Regions from separate parts of the Homo sapiens genome. Here regions 1 and 3 are each linked to region 2. The links are contacts of gene promoters, found by promoter capture Hi-C in human tissues and cell types (Jung and others, 2019). All regions are on one chromosome and are shown on one strand. The core of a region is centred on a gene start or on the middle of the fragment in contact, and the rest is flanking DNA. Distances in the headings are between cores, read along the strand shown. Region 1 holds the start of CSNK1G1 (casein kinase 1 gamma 1). Region 2 holds the start of PLEKHO2 (pleckstrin homology domain containing O2). Region 3 overlaps CILP (cartilage intermediate layer protein).

Evidence for each region. The method cuts DNA at HindIII sites, captures the fragments that hold promoters and counts their contacts. A contact is called where the count stands out against the background at its distance.
Region 1: a contact is called between the fragment with the promoter of CSNK1G1 here and the fragment with the promoter of PLEKHO2 in region 2, in 5 of the 25 tissues and cell types used here (adrenal gland, bladder, heart left ventricle and 2 more).
Region 3: a fragment that was not itself captured here is called in contact with the fragment with the promoter of PLEKHO2 in region 2 in 1 of the 25 tissues and cell types used here (pancreas).

Annotation. Positions count from the first base shown.
Region 1 is chr15:64,354,463-64,358,176 of GRCh38, reverse strand. CSNK1G1 (casein kinase 1 gamma 1) reads left to right here and starts at 2,004. Exons shown (of 12, transcript NM_022048.5): 1 at 2,004-2,189. RefSeq lists silencers at 2,069-2,118, 2,229-2,288, 2,679-2,738. The HindIII fragment of the contact is 13,823 bases long and covers 1-3,714 here.
Region 2 is chr15:64,839,458-64,843,179 of GRCh38, reverse strand. It overlaps PLEKHO2 (pleckstrin homology domain containing O2), which reads right to left and starts at 1,265. Exons shown (of 6, transcript NM_025201.5): 1 at 1,152-1,265. The coding sequence starts at 1,163. It overlaps LOC124903508 (a long non-coding RNA gene), which reads left to right and starts at 3,024. Exons shown (of 4, transcript XR_007064682.1): 1 at 3,024-3,326; 2 at 3,484-3,589. RefSeq lists enhancers at 58-609, 642-1,165 and silencers at 973-1,412, 1,423-1,742. The HindIII fragment of the contact is 9,878 bases long and covers 1-3,722 here.
Region 3 is chr15:65,191,339-65,195,416 of GRCh38, reverse strand. CILP (cartilage intermediate layer protein) reads left to right here. Exons shown (of 9, transcript NM_003613.4): 9 at 1-657. Among named protein-coding and RNA genes, the nearest start is that of CLPX, 8.0 kb to the right of the region's middle. RefSeq lists an enhancer at 3,052-3,346. The HindIII fragment of the contact is 3,805 bases long and covers 437-4,078 here.

The DNA of each region.
Region 1 (3,714 bases), core at 755-3,254, 490 kb after region 2:
TATTTTACCTGCCATAACGATATGGGTTCTTTTCCTTTTTTTTTTTTTTTTCTTTTTTCTGAAACGGAGTCTCGCTCTGTTGCCCAGGCTGGAGTGCAATGGCGCAATCTCGGCTCACTGCAACGTCTGCCTTCTGGGTTCAAATGATTCTCATGCCTCAGCCTCCCGAGTAGGTGGGATCACAGGTGCCCACCACCACGCCCAGCTAATTTTTCTATTTTTAATAGAGACAGGGTTTCACCAGTTTGGCCAGGCTGGTCTCGAACTCCTTACCTCAGGTGATCCTCAGGCCTCGGCTTCCCAAAGTGCTGAGATTACAGGCGTGAGCCACCGCACCCAGCCTCCAGATACGAGTTGTTTTTTTCGAGTATTACTTTGTTAACTTTTACCCCAACCATTCATTTTCCCAATATTTTCAAACCCCAAATCACCCAGACACAATAAATGAGGTCTCTTTTCTTATCCATAGTGTCGGTATGAAAGTTTATTTTGAAGGTTTTTTTTTTTTTTTTTAGACGGAGTCTAGCTCTGTCTCCATGCTGCAGGGCAGTGGCGCGGTCTCGGCTCACTGCAACCTCCGCCTCCCGGGTTCCCGCGATTCTCCTGCCTCAGTCTCCCGAGTAGCTGGGACTACAGGCACACGCCACCACGCCCAGCTAATTTTTGTTTGTTTGTTTATTTATTTATTATTATTTTTGAGACGGAGTCTCGCTCTGTCATCAGGCTGGAGTGCCATTGGAGTGCAATGGCACGATCTCGGCTCACTGCAATCTCCGCCTCCCGGGTTCAAGCAATTCCCCTGCTTCAGCCTCCCGTGTAACTGGGACTACAGGCACGTGCCACCACCCCCAGCCAATTTTTTGTATTTTAGTAGAGACGGGGTTTCACCATGTTGGCCAGGATGGTCTCCATCTCCTGACCTCGTGATCTGCCCGCCTCGGCCTCCCAAAGTGCTTACAGGAGGACTACAGGCGCGAGCCACCGCGCCCGGCCAATTTTTGTATTTTTAGTAGAGACGGAGTTTCACCATGTTGGCCAGGATGGTCTCCATCTCCTGACCTCGTGATCCGCCAGTCTCGGCTTCCCAAAGTGTTGGGATTACAGGTGTGAGCCACCGCACCCGGCATATTTTGAGTTTTGAGTGGAGGATTAGACAGTCTTCTTCCTTCCCAAATTTGATTATGGGCTCCCTTTAGCCTTTTTCTTTGTTTTCTGTCTTTTTTCCACCACCACCCCGCCCCCGAGGCGCAGTCTCAAGAGGTCCTGAGAACATGTGCCCTGCTCTCTGTTTTAAGGATTAAAATAACTGTCGAGTTACATTGAATCTTTTTTGCCTATTCCATTTGGCTAGGTTAATTCCAGACCTTACACAAACATGTGCAGCTCTTACAAAATGTAGGTGAAGACAACATTTTTCTAACCATTCGGCTTCATGGGCTGTCACAGGAGAACTAAGTGCATGAAAAACCTTTCACAACATTGAAAGAAATTTTAAAAATCTGGTTGAAACACAATTAAAAATCCACAAGAGGGAGATGCTTGCTAAACCGTCAGAAAATAATTCCCTCGAGGGACCTGAGAGAGGAGCCTGGAGCCTTAGGAACAGCCACTGGGTCAGCCACGGGATTAAGGGTGGGAGGGAGCAGGAGTATATAGAGACGGGGGCTTGGTGGAGGAGTACAGTTGAAGGGAAAAGCGGGATGGGTTTCGTGCCTCTGGCAGCGAAGCGTGTACTTGGTCTAAGATCTTGAGCAGAAGGTAAGAGCGTGTTGCCAAAGCAGAGCTCAGTGCTCCCGATATATCTTCTGGTAGTCCCAGAAGAAATGGGGGTGGGTTGCTTTGAAGGCACTTCCGCTTAGCAACCCCACGCGGTTGCTAAGGAGGGGGCAGCCGTGGGGATAACCCGGAAGTGATGGTGTCAGTTTAACGCTGCCTGCCCAAAGTTTGTCCTATTAGGCCCGCCAGGGTACTCTGCGACTCCGGGACGAGGGCGGGGCCGCGCTAGTGGTTCCGGTTCGGCTCCAGCCGCCCCTCGGCTCCTCGCCTTCCCCCTCCCGTCCGCCTTCTCCCCTCCCTCCCGCTCCTGGGAAAGAGAGAAACCACCGCTGCGGGTGGGTAGAGAAGCACTTGGCGCCTCGGGGAGGGGACCGCGCCCGCCTCATTTGCGCCTTGCAGCACTGCTGGACCAGGTATCTGCCCGGCTTCGTCGGGGTTCTGTAGGCTGAAGTCTGAGGGGGTGTGTGTGTGTCTGAGGGGGTTGGTGGGGGGCCCTTTCCTGGGCGTGGGTGGGGGACGCCGTGATCCCGGGTGGGGCGCAGGCTGGCGTTTGTGTCTGTGGAGGGTTGCGGGGGCGGAATGGAGGGGCTGAGGGACACAGCGGGTGGAGAGTTTCGGTTAGCGGGGTAGAGGTAGGCGGAGGAGGCGCCCCTTCCGAGAAACTGACTCTAGCCGGTGTGGACCGGGAGTTTGCCACCTGGAGGGCTTACTCTGAAAGGGGGAGCATCCCCCGGGAGCCAAAAGGAGGGCACAGATCTCGTCAGGGTGACTGGGGCTATCCCGTGCTTCCATTGCCCTCTTTCCCTACCCACCCCGCTGGGACAGAGCTGGACTTCGAAGGTTGTGGGGGTTCTGAGTCGACTGGGTACCGCGGGGAGCCGCCCTTGGCGGAGCTTAGGGCACAAGAGTGGGTAATGAGACTTTCCTCTACCCAACTTCCGTACGCTTCCCCCACTTCTTCCTTTACTGTTTCCTCGCCCCCACGTCCTACAGGAGCAATGTCCCCCAAGTGGGCAGGCATCACAATGTAAAAGAGAGTGGAACTGGGTTTGTTGCCCCTAAATGACACTTAAGATGTTTGGAAAGTGCCTGAATGACATATTCAACCAAGTCTCCCAGCTCGATATTAATTCCGGTATAAATTACCTTAGAAAAGTGGAATTCTGAAAAGCATTTAACAATAGGCTAGTCCAGGTGTAGTCTTGTGTAGTAGATGTACGTGTTTATTTAAAAAGAATGGACTGGGGAAACCATATAGATGTATCACAGGTCTAGGCAAGACATGTTGAGGCAAGGCTTTTGCAGCCTCTTTCTTACCTGCCAGTAAACCTGTCCTAATTTAAATGAAGTAGAAAGATCCTCTTCATTTTTGTTTCAATCAGTGACTGAATACTAGGTGCTGTGTAGTGATGTCTCAGAACAGATATGTGAATTTTCAGAGAGAGAATGAATGTTCTGCTGTTGAGCCTGTGTCTTAATCTTTTAAGGAGATAATTGCGGTCAAGTGGAAGTATTGACTTTCAGGCAGATAAATCTTGGGTTGAACCTAGACTATGCCAGTTGCTAGTTACTGACCTTGGGCAAGTCATGGAACCTACCAGAGCTTTTGTTTCTTCATAAGTAGTATGAGTTAAAATTCTTACCTGTATTATAAGTAACATCCCATTTTAAACGGAACCACCTTTGAATTAGAAGATAAATTATTACCATTAATCATACACAGTCAAGGCAGCCCAGTTTTGTGAAACGAGGTTTGAGATAGGAAAGCAACCGGATAATTTTGAAAAAAAAATGCATACAATAGGACTTTCAGTGTCTTCTCGAAATTGATCGTAGGTAGCATGAAATTCAGTTATCAGTAGTTTCTTAAAATTCAAAATAATAAAGTAGAATATGGCCCATTTATTGAAATGAGCAAAATATATTTTATAGATTTTT
Region 2 (3,722 bases), core at 16-2,515:
TGGCCTAGAGGGAGCCCTGACGGACCACTAGCTGCTCCTATCCATGGCCCTGGAAAAGTGGGAGGTGGGCACTGAAGGGACACAGGCAGTCCGGTCCACTCAGGGCTTCCCAGCTGGCCAGGGTTCCCCCAAGGCAGAGAACTTCATCTTTCCTCCCCATCCAAGGAGGCAAAGACATGCCCCTTCCCTTGGGCTGAGAGGGGCTGAAGCTGGGACCCCCTCAGGGGATAAGAAACAAATTCACCTTCCTCTAGACCCAACAGGCCCCTCATTTTAACTTAATCATTCCACAGGCATATATTAAGTGCTTGCTGCGTGCTGGACCCTCGGATAAAGCGGCTGCTGGCAGAACTGAGTTTGCAAGTAAAGGGCAGGGGCAGGGGCAAGACCCAATCCCAGGCCAAGAGTGTTTTGAGTGGTTAGAAGGAGGCTCCAGGGACACAGTTGGTCCAGCCCTCGGGTGGGGAAGGCAGGGACTAAGATCAGACCCTAGGTGGGCCGGACTCCCGATTCCTTCCCTACAGCTAGCTGCTCAGATGGATGTGGAGCGGGGAGAGAGTGGGGGAAAAGATACAGAGACTTATACAAGGGAGAAAAAAGCAACTTCTCCAATCCTCCTGCCACCAAAGCATGGTCACATCCTTGAGACAGGAACCCCCCAACACACACATACACACACACACAGAGTCAGGATCCGATCCTTGAGACAGGAACCCCCCAACACACACATACACACACACACACAGTCAGGATCCGACACACACACACACACACACACACACACACACAGAGAGAGAGAGAGAGTCAGGATCCGACCACGGTAATCGGGGTTCGAGCCCAGTCACCCAGGCCACTTTCAGCAAGTCATCAATCTCGCTGGAGTCTCAGTCTCCTGGTCAATCCAATGGGAACGGTAACAACCACGACGCCCCACAACTGGTGAGAAAGTCAGCGAGAATGAAGGAGGACGCGGTCTGCGAAGTCCCCGATATGGATCCAGCCCCTCGCCCCTGCCCCATTTGCCCAGGCTCTTCCTGAGGTGAGACTGGCGGGAGTGGGGCGGGCAGGAACGAGGGCCTGAGCCCAGGACCGCAATCCCCGTGAGGGGCTCGAGGACCCCAGCCCAACGCCCCGCCGGGCCCCGCCCTCACCTCCTCCTCCATGGCGAGTCCGCCGAGGTCCCGCCGCTCCGCCACTCGCTTCCAGCGCCGCGCGGGCTCTGCCACCGCGTCTACGCCCGGCCAGGCGGCGACTCTCCGCGTTCTGTCCCGCCGGCTGCCGGGGGCCCAAGAAACTTCGGGGGGGCGGGGCCGGGGGCGGGGTGAGGCTTCCGGGGGCCGGGGCGGGGCCGGGGAGGGGGCGGTGGGGCCGGGGGCCCGGCCCAGGGCGGGAAATGGGTGGGGAGGGGCGGGGCCTGGGTTGGAGACTGGACGGAGGAGCCGGGCGGAGATGCAACTGGAGGAAGAGGGCGGGACGGGGCGGAGAAGGTTTCCCGCATCGGCGGAGGGAGAGGGACTAGGAGGGGGCTGCGGCGGGGGAGGAGAGGGGGCTTCCGGCCCAGAGACTGAGGCGAGGGTGGCGGGAGCGGCGCGCAGGCAGGGCTGGGGTGGGGCGCACACAGTGAGCGCTGGGGGCGCTGGCGGTGGAGCCTTTGAGGTCTCCCGAACCAGTGGGCTGGGGTTGCGAGACCGAGCCGAGCTGCCCTGGGCGGCCAGAGATGTGGGCACACAGAGGCTCCTCCTCTTTCCTCCCCGACGCCGGGCAGTGGGCGGTGGCCTGGTCTTCTCCCTGGAACCTCTGGGCGGGGCCGGGCCTGGAGCTTGGGTCTCTGTCCGGAGGGTGGTGTCACAGGAAGAGCTGGAGCTGAGAGTCGGGACTCCGGGGTCCCTTTAGGGGGCGGCCCGCCCCTGGCTCTCAGGGGTCTCCAAGCGCAGTGTTCTCCTGCTCTCCTTGGGCATCGCTCAATCCCTCCCGTATCTGAGGGTCGACCATCCCCCCGATCCCGCGGTGAGCTTGCAGCCCTGACAGCCTTACTGGAGAGTGGGAGTGTGGGGACCAGCAGAGAGTAATGATTTTAGTTATACCATGCGCCCTCATTTTACATTGGAGAAACTGAGGCCCAGAGAGAGAAAGTAACTGGCTGCATCGCAGCCTGCAGCACCGCTCCCCTCTCACACACACACGCATACTCCCCCTTAGCTCTCCTGGTCAACCCCGTCCCATGCCAAGGAAGGGAAAATTAAGTGCATGTGAGATCAATGGTGACCTTCTTCGGCTCTGGCTGCCATAGCAGCGGCTGTGCCAGCGACCAAGCTCCCCTTTCACGGCCTTCTGCCAGCCCTCAGGCTCCCAGGCTACTTCCAGCCCTGTACGGAAAAGGGCAGCCTGGGGCTCCCAGGCCAAGGGGGAAGGAGATGCAGGTACACTTCTCCCTCATGCCTAGGCCTGGGATCCTTTAGCTAAAGGAATGAAGAAAATTGAGGCTGATATTATCACACTGGTCAAGAAAAAGAAAGAATAGAAAAGAAAGAGAGAGGAAGGAGAGAGAGAGGAAGGAGGGAGGGAAGGAAGGAAAAAAGGAAAGAAAGAAAAAGAAAAGAAAGAGAAATGAAGGAAGGAAAGAAAGAAAAGAAACAAGGAAGGAGAGAGGAAGGAAGGACGGAGGGAAGGAAGGAAAGAAAAGAAAGAGCTGGGAGCGGTGGCTCACACCTGTAATCCCAGCACTTTGGGAGGCTGAGGCAGGCTGATCACCTGAGGTCGGGAGTTCAGACCAACCTGACCAACGTGGAGAAACCCCGTCTCTACTAAAAATAGAAAATTAGCCAGGCGAGGTGGTGCATCCCTGTAATCCCAGCTACTTGAGCGGCTGAGGCAGGAGAATCGCTTGAGCCCGAAAGGCGGAGGTTGCAGTGAGCTGAGATCACGCCATTGCACTCCAGTCTGGGCAACAGGAGTGAAACTCTGTCAAAAAAAAAAAGGGAGAGAGAGAGAAGGGAGGGAGGGAGGGACGCAAGGAGGGAAAAGAGAAAGAAAGAGAAAGAAAGAAAGGAAAGAAAAAGAGAGAAAGAAAGGAAGGAAGGAAAGATGAAGGAAAATTGAGGCTGAGGATCTGAGATAGTCTGTATATGTAGCAACCTCTTTCGGCCACCACATGGTTTTACTCCCTCAATCTGCAGAGCTGTGCAGCATTCTACTCCAATGATCAAGGACTCAGAAGATCTTGTATCTGGAAACTCATGCTCCACCTGCAGCAGACCAGAGACCCTGGGGAAATTCATTTTGTTACACAGAAGCAGCCCTTTGTAGGGAGAGAGCAGTGAGGACAGGTTGGTTTGACATCCAAATAGTTCTGTCATTTTGGGGAATGAGCCATTGAGAACTACTCTGGCCTCAGTTTCCCCATCTAGCTCAAAAAACCCTCTGGTTTTGCCTCTATACTGTGTGCTTTCATTCAACACATATTTTATTTTCTTTGTCTGTCAGTCCCTACAATAGTGGCTGGGAGATAATGGCAGAGCTCAGGATCCCTGTCCTCTACTGGGGAGAAAGGCATGTAAGAAGATGAGAATGCCGAGTGTTAAATGAGAAGGTAAATGCACAGAGAAGGGGCACCAGAACCAGGACAAAGGGGTAGGACAGGCATTCTAGGGAGAGGGGACAGCGTGTAATCAATGGCATGGAGGCATGAACAGCACAGCATGTGTATGTAGGGCGGCCAGTCT
Region 3 (4,078 bases), core at 1,090-3,589, 350 kb before region 2:
GCATTACAGTCAGGGTAGTGGGGTGTGGGGTTGGATAGGATGCACTCACTGCCCCTATCCCAACCCCTCCAGAATCTGTCAGGCAAGAGTCCAAAGGGTTTGGGAGAAGAGAGGACACTGTTTACAATCAGGACAAAAAGCTTTCCCTGATGCCCTGGCCAGCCTAGTGCAGCTCCTTTACCCATCTCTGGCCTGGGCTGGATTTGTACTCTTGGATCACCATCTGCCCGGCTCCTGGGAATTTGGTTTGTAAGCAATTAGAAATTTCTCTAGCTGAGCACATCACAATAACCATAGAAAAAGCAAGCATCTGCAGGAGTGAGGACTAGTGGTCTTGTGATTGCAACTTGACCCACTTCCAGACTCCACATCTGTCCCACTGCTCCCAGGAAGCAGCTCTCACTGACTGCTTGGGGAGGCTTGACTGCCCCTGTTGTGAGTGCACAGCTATCTGCAGCACCATCGCCCCAGCCACTTCAGGAGCCAGAGTGCCTGCTGCTTCAACCTGACCACCAGTTCACTTCAAACTCACGGGGGGAGGGGGAGGGTCGGGGGGGGGTGGGTTGCTGGGGAAGGTGGGCTGACTGGTTCCCCACTCTAGGGCACTTTCCTTGCTGTTCTCAATTGAGGGCCTGAATAAATGGACTCCAGCACACAGCATCTGATGCCTGACTTTTTCCTTCACTCGCCAAACATTTATTGAGTGCCAAACCATGTATGCAAGTAGACAAGCTTTTATGAGATAGTACAAAACATACTACATGTCATGGCATCAGACTTTGAGGAAGTAGTGGTCAAAGAAGTCTTCTTAGAAAAGGTGACATCTAATTTGAGGTCTGAATGATAGCTAGGAGGTGGCCTGCTAATGGTATGGCTGTCAGGAACGAGAGGCACAAGCAGAAACAGATGTGCAAAACCAGGGACTGCAGGCTGGGTGGGGCTTGCAGGCAGATACCTCTCTTTCAGACAAGGAAACACTTTTTTTTTTTTTTTTGAGACGCAGTTTTGCTCTTTCGCCTAGGCTGGAGTGCAGTGGTGCGATCTTGGCTCACTGCAACCTCTGCCCCCGGGGTTCCAGCGATTCTCCTGCCTCAGCCTCCCGAGTAGCTGGGATTACAGGTGTGCACCTCCATGCCCAGCTAATTTTTGTATTTTTAGTAGAGACAGGGTTTCACCATGTTGGCCAGGCTGGTCTTGAACCCCTGACCTCAGGTGATCCACCCACCTCAGCCTCCCAAAGCGCTGGGATTACAGGTGTGAACTGCCGCCAGGCCTAGCCAGCATTCTTGAGTTGAACTCATGATACTTAATTCCTAAGAGTCTTGCCTCCAAAATCAAATGTGCTCCTTGCTAGCTGCATAACTTTCCCCTGGACCTCAATTTACTCACCTATAAATGAAGGATTTCTAAAGCCCTTTTCATGATTTTCAGTGAGGCTAATAGCACCATTCCCAGGATGCTTTCAGTTCATTAAACCACTGCTGATTTGTCGGTTGTTCCCCTGTGGAGACTGCACACTGGATGGACAAAATGCTCATCTCAGGAAAGCCCTAGCGTTTCAGTCTCAGCCTTCTGATCACCCAGTTACTGAGTGCGAATTCTGTGAAGGTCGGTACCATATGGCATGGAGGAGGGGAACAGGCAGGTAGATGGGCAGATCAGGTTGCTTCTGCTTACAAACAAGGGAGTTTTCAAACAATGTTCTCTCAAGTTCAAAGAGTTCTAGCAGCTGACGTGATAAGAGAAAAATGTCACCAAGATGTTGGGACAAGAACAGAGTCTGGAAGGATTGAGAGGACTTAAGCAAAATTAGAGGTAGATGGGGTTTCAGGTAAAGGTGTTGGCTAGAGCCAAAGAATAGAGGTGGGACTGTGCACTGGCAGTCTTTTGATTACAAGTAACAGGGGTGCCAGGTAACCTCAGGAAGGACTGGAACCAAGAATTGCAGAGCCATCAGAATCCAGGTAATCACTCTTTCTGGTTTCAATTAACTTGTCTTCTCTCATGCTCGGTGGCTTTGGTTCTCTCAATTTCTAATTCAATCTTGGGTTACATGCTCTGTTTTTCTTTTTCTTTTCTTTTCTTTTTTCTTTTTTTTTTTTTGAGACAGAGTCTCGCTTTGTTGTCCAGGCTGGAATGCAGTGGCGCCATCTCGGCTCACTGCAAGCTCCGCCTCCCGGGTCCACGCCATTCTCCTGCCTCAACCTCCCGAGTAGCTGGGACTACAGGCGCCCGCCACCACGCCCGGCTAACTTTTTTTGTGTGTATTTTTAGTAGAGGCAGAGTTTCACCGTGTTAGCCAGGATGGTCTCGATGTCCTGACCTCGTGATCCACCCGCCGCGGCCTCCCAAAGTGCTGGGATTACAGGCGTAAGCCACCGCGTCTGGCCTACAATGCTCTGTTTTTCAGACTGTCTCTCTGACTTTATTTCTATTTTTTTTTGTTTGTTTGTTTTTGTTTTTTGAGACGGAGCTGTGCTCTTGTTGCCCAGACTGGAGTGCAATGGCGCGATCTCGGCTCACTGCAACCTCCGCCCCCCGGGTTCAAGCAATTCTCCTGCCTCAGCCTCCTGAGTAGCCGAGATTAAAGGCGCCCGCCACCATGCCAGGCTATTTTTGTTTTGTTTTGTTTTGTTTTTTGTTTTTTGATACGGAGTCTCTCTCTGTTGCCCAGGCTGGAGTGCAGTCGTGCGATCTCGGCTCACTGCATCCTCCACCTCCCACGTTCAACCGATTCTCCTGCCTCACCCTCCCGAGTAGCTGGGATTACAGGCGGGTGCCACCACGCCTGGCTAATTTTTTGTATTTTTAGTAGAGACAGGGTTTCACCGTGTTAGCCAGAATGGTCTCTATCTCCTGACCTCGTGATCCGTCCGCCTCGGCCTCCCAAAGTGCTGGGATTACAGGCGTGAGCCACCGCACCCGGCCAATTTCTCTCTCTTCTTAGCCCCTGTCTCTGTTGCAGTCTCTCCCTCTCACTGTGTGGTCTTTCCTCTCTGCAGGAACCCTTGGTTCTGCTTGCAGATATGCTTTCTCTGTTCCTCTGGGCTCACAGAAGAAGGTGGCCACCCTATTTATATCTCAAGTCAATGAATAGCCCTGTCTTGAAGACCGAATTTGATTGGCCCAGTTTGAATTGGGGCTCCACCTCTAGTCCAATCAACCGTGGCCATGGCAGGGGTGGGAAATACAGGGCAATCCTGCTATCCAATCAAATTCCCTGGAGAGACAATCTGGTTGGCCCAGCTGCAGTTTGCCTCTAGTCCAGTCAACTGTGTCCATGGTGGGGGTGTGGCATATAAAGGGCAGTCCTAAGGCCTTGGGCGGTCGCTCTCACCTACAATTCCAGCACTTTGGGAGGCGGAGGCTAGCAGATCACCTGAGGTCAGGAGTTCAAGACCAGCCTGGCCAACATGGCTAAAAATACAAAAATTGGCCAGGCGCCTGTGGCTCACGCCTGTAATCCCAGCACTTTGGGGGGCCGAGGAGGGTGGATCACCAGGTCAGGAGATCGAGACCATCCTGGCTAACATGGTGAAACCCCGTCTCTATTAAAAATACAAAAAATTAGCCAGGCGTGGTGGCGGACGCCTGTAGTCCCAGCTACTCAGGAGGCTGAGACAGGAGAATGGCGTGAACCCAGGAGGCGGAGGTTGCAGTGAGGCAAGATTGTGCCACTGCACTCCAGCCTGGGCGACAGAGCAAGACTCCGTCTCAAAAAAAAAAAAAAAAAAAAGGCTTTGCTGGCTGGGTGTGGCGGTTCATGCCTGTAATCCTAGCACTTTAGGAGGCTGAGGCAGGTAGATCACTTGAGCCCAGGAGTTCCAGACCATCCTGGGCAACATGGTGAAACCCTATCTCTTAAAAAATACAAAAATTAGCCAGGCATGGTGGCACACACCTGTAGTCCCAGCTACTCGGGAGGCTGAGATGGGAGGAGCGCTTGAGCCTGGGAGGTAGAGGCTGCAGTGAGCTGTGATTATGCTACTGTATTCCAGTCTGGGCAACAGAGTGAGACCCTGTCCCCTCATCAAAAAAAAAGAATTTGCTGTATCCCACACTGCTAGAAATGGAAGAG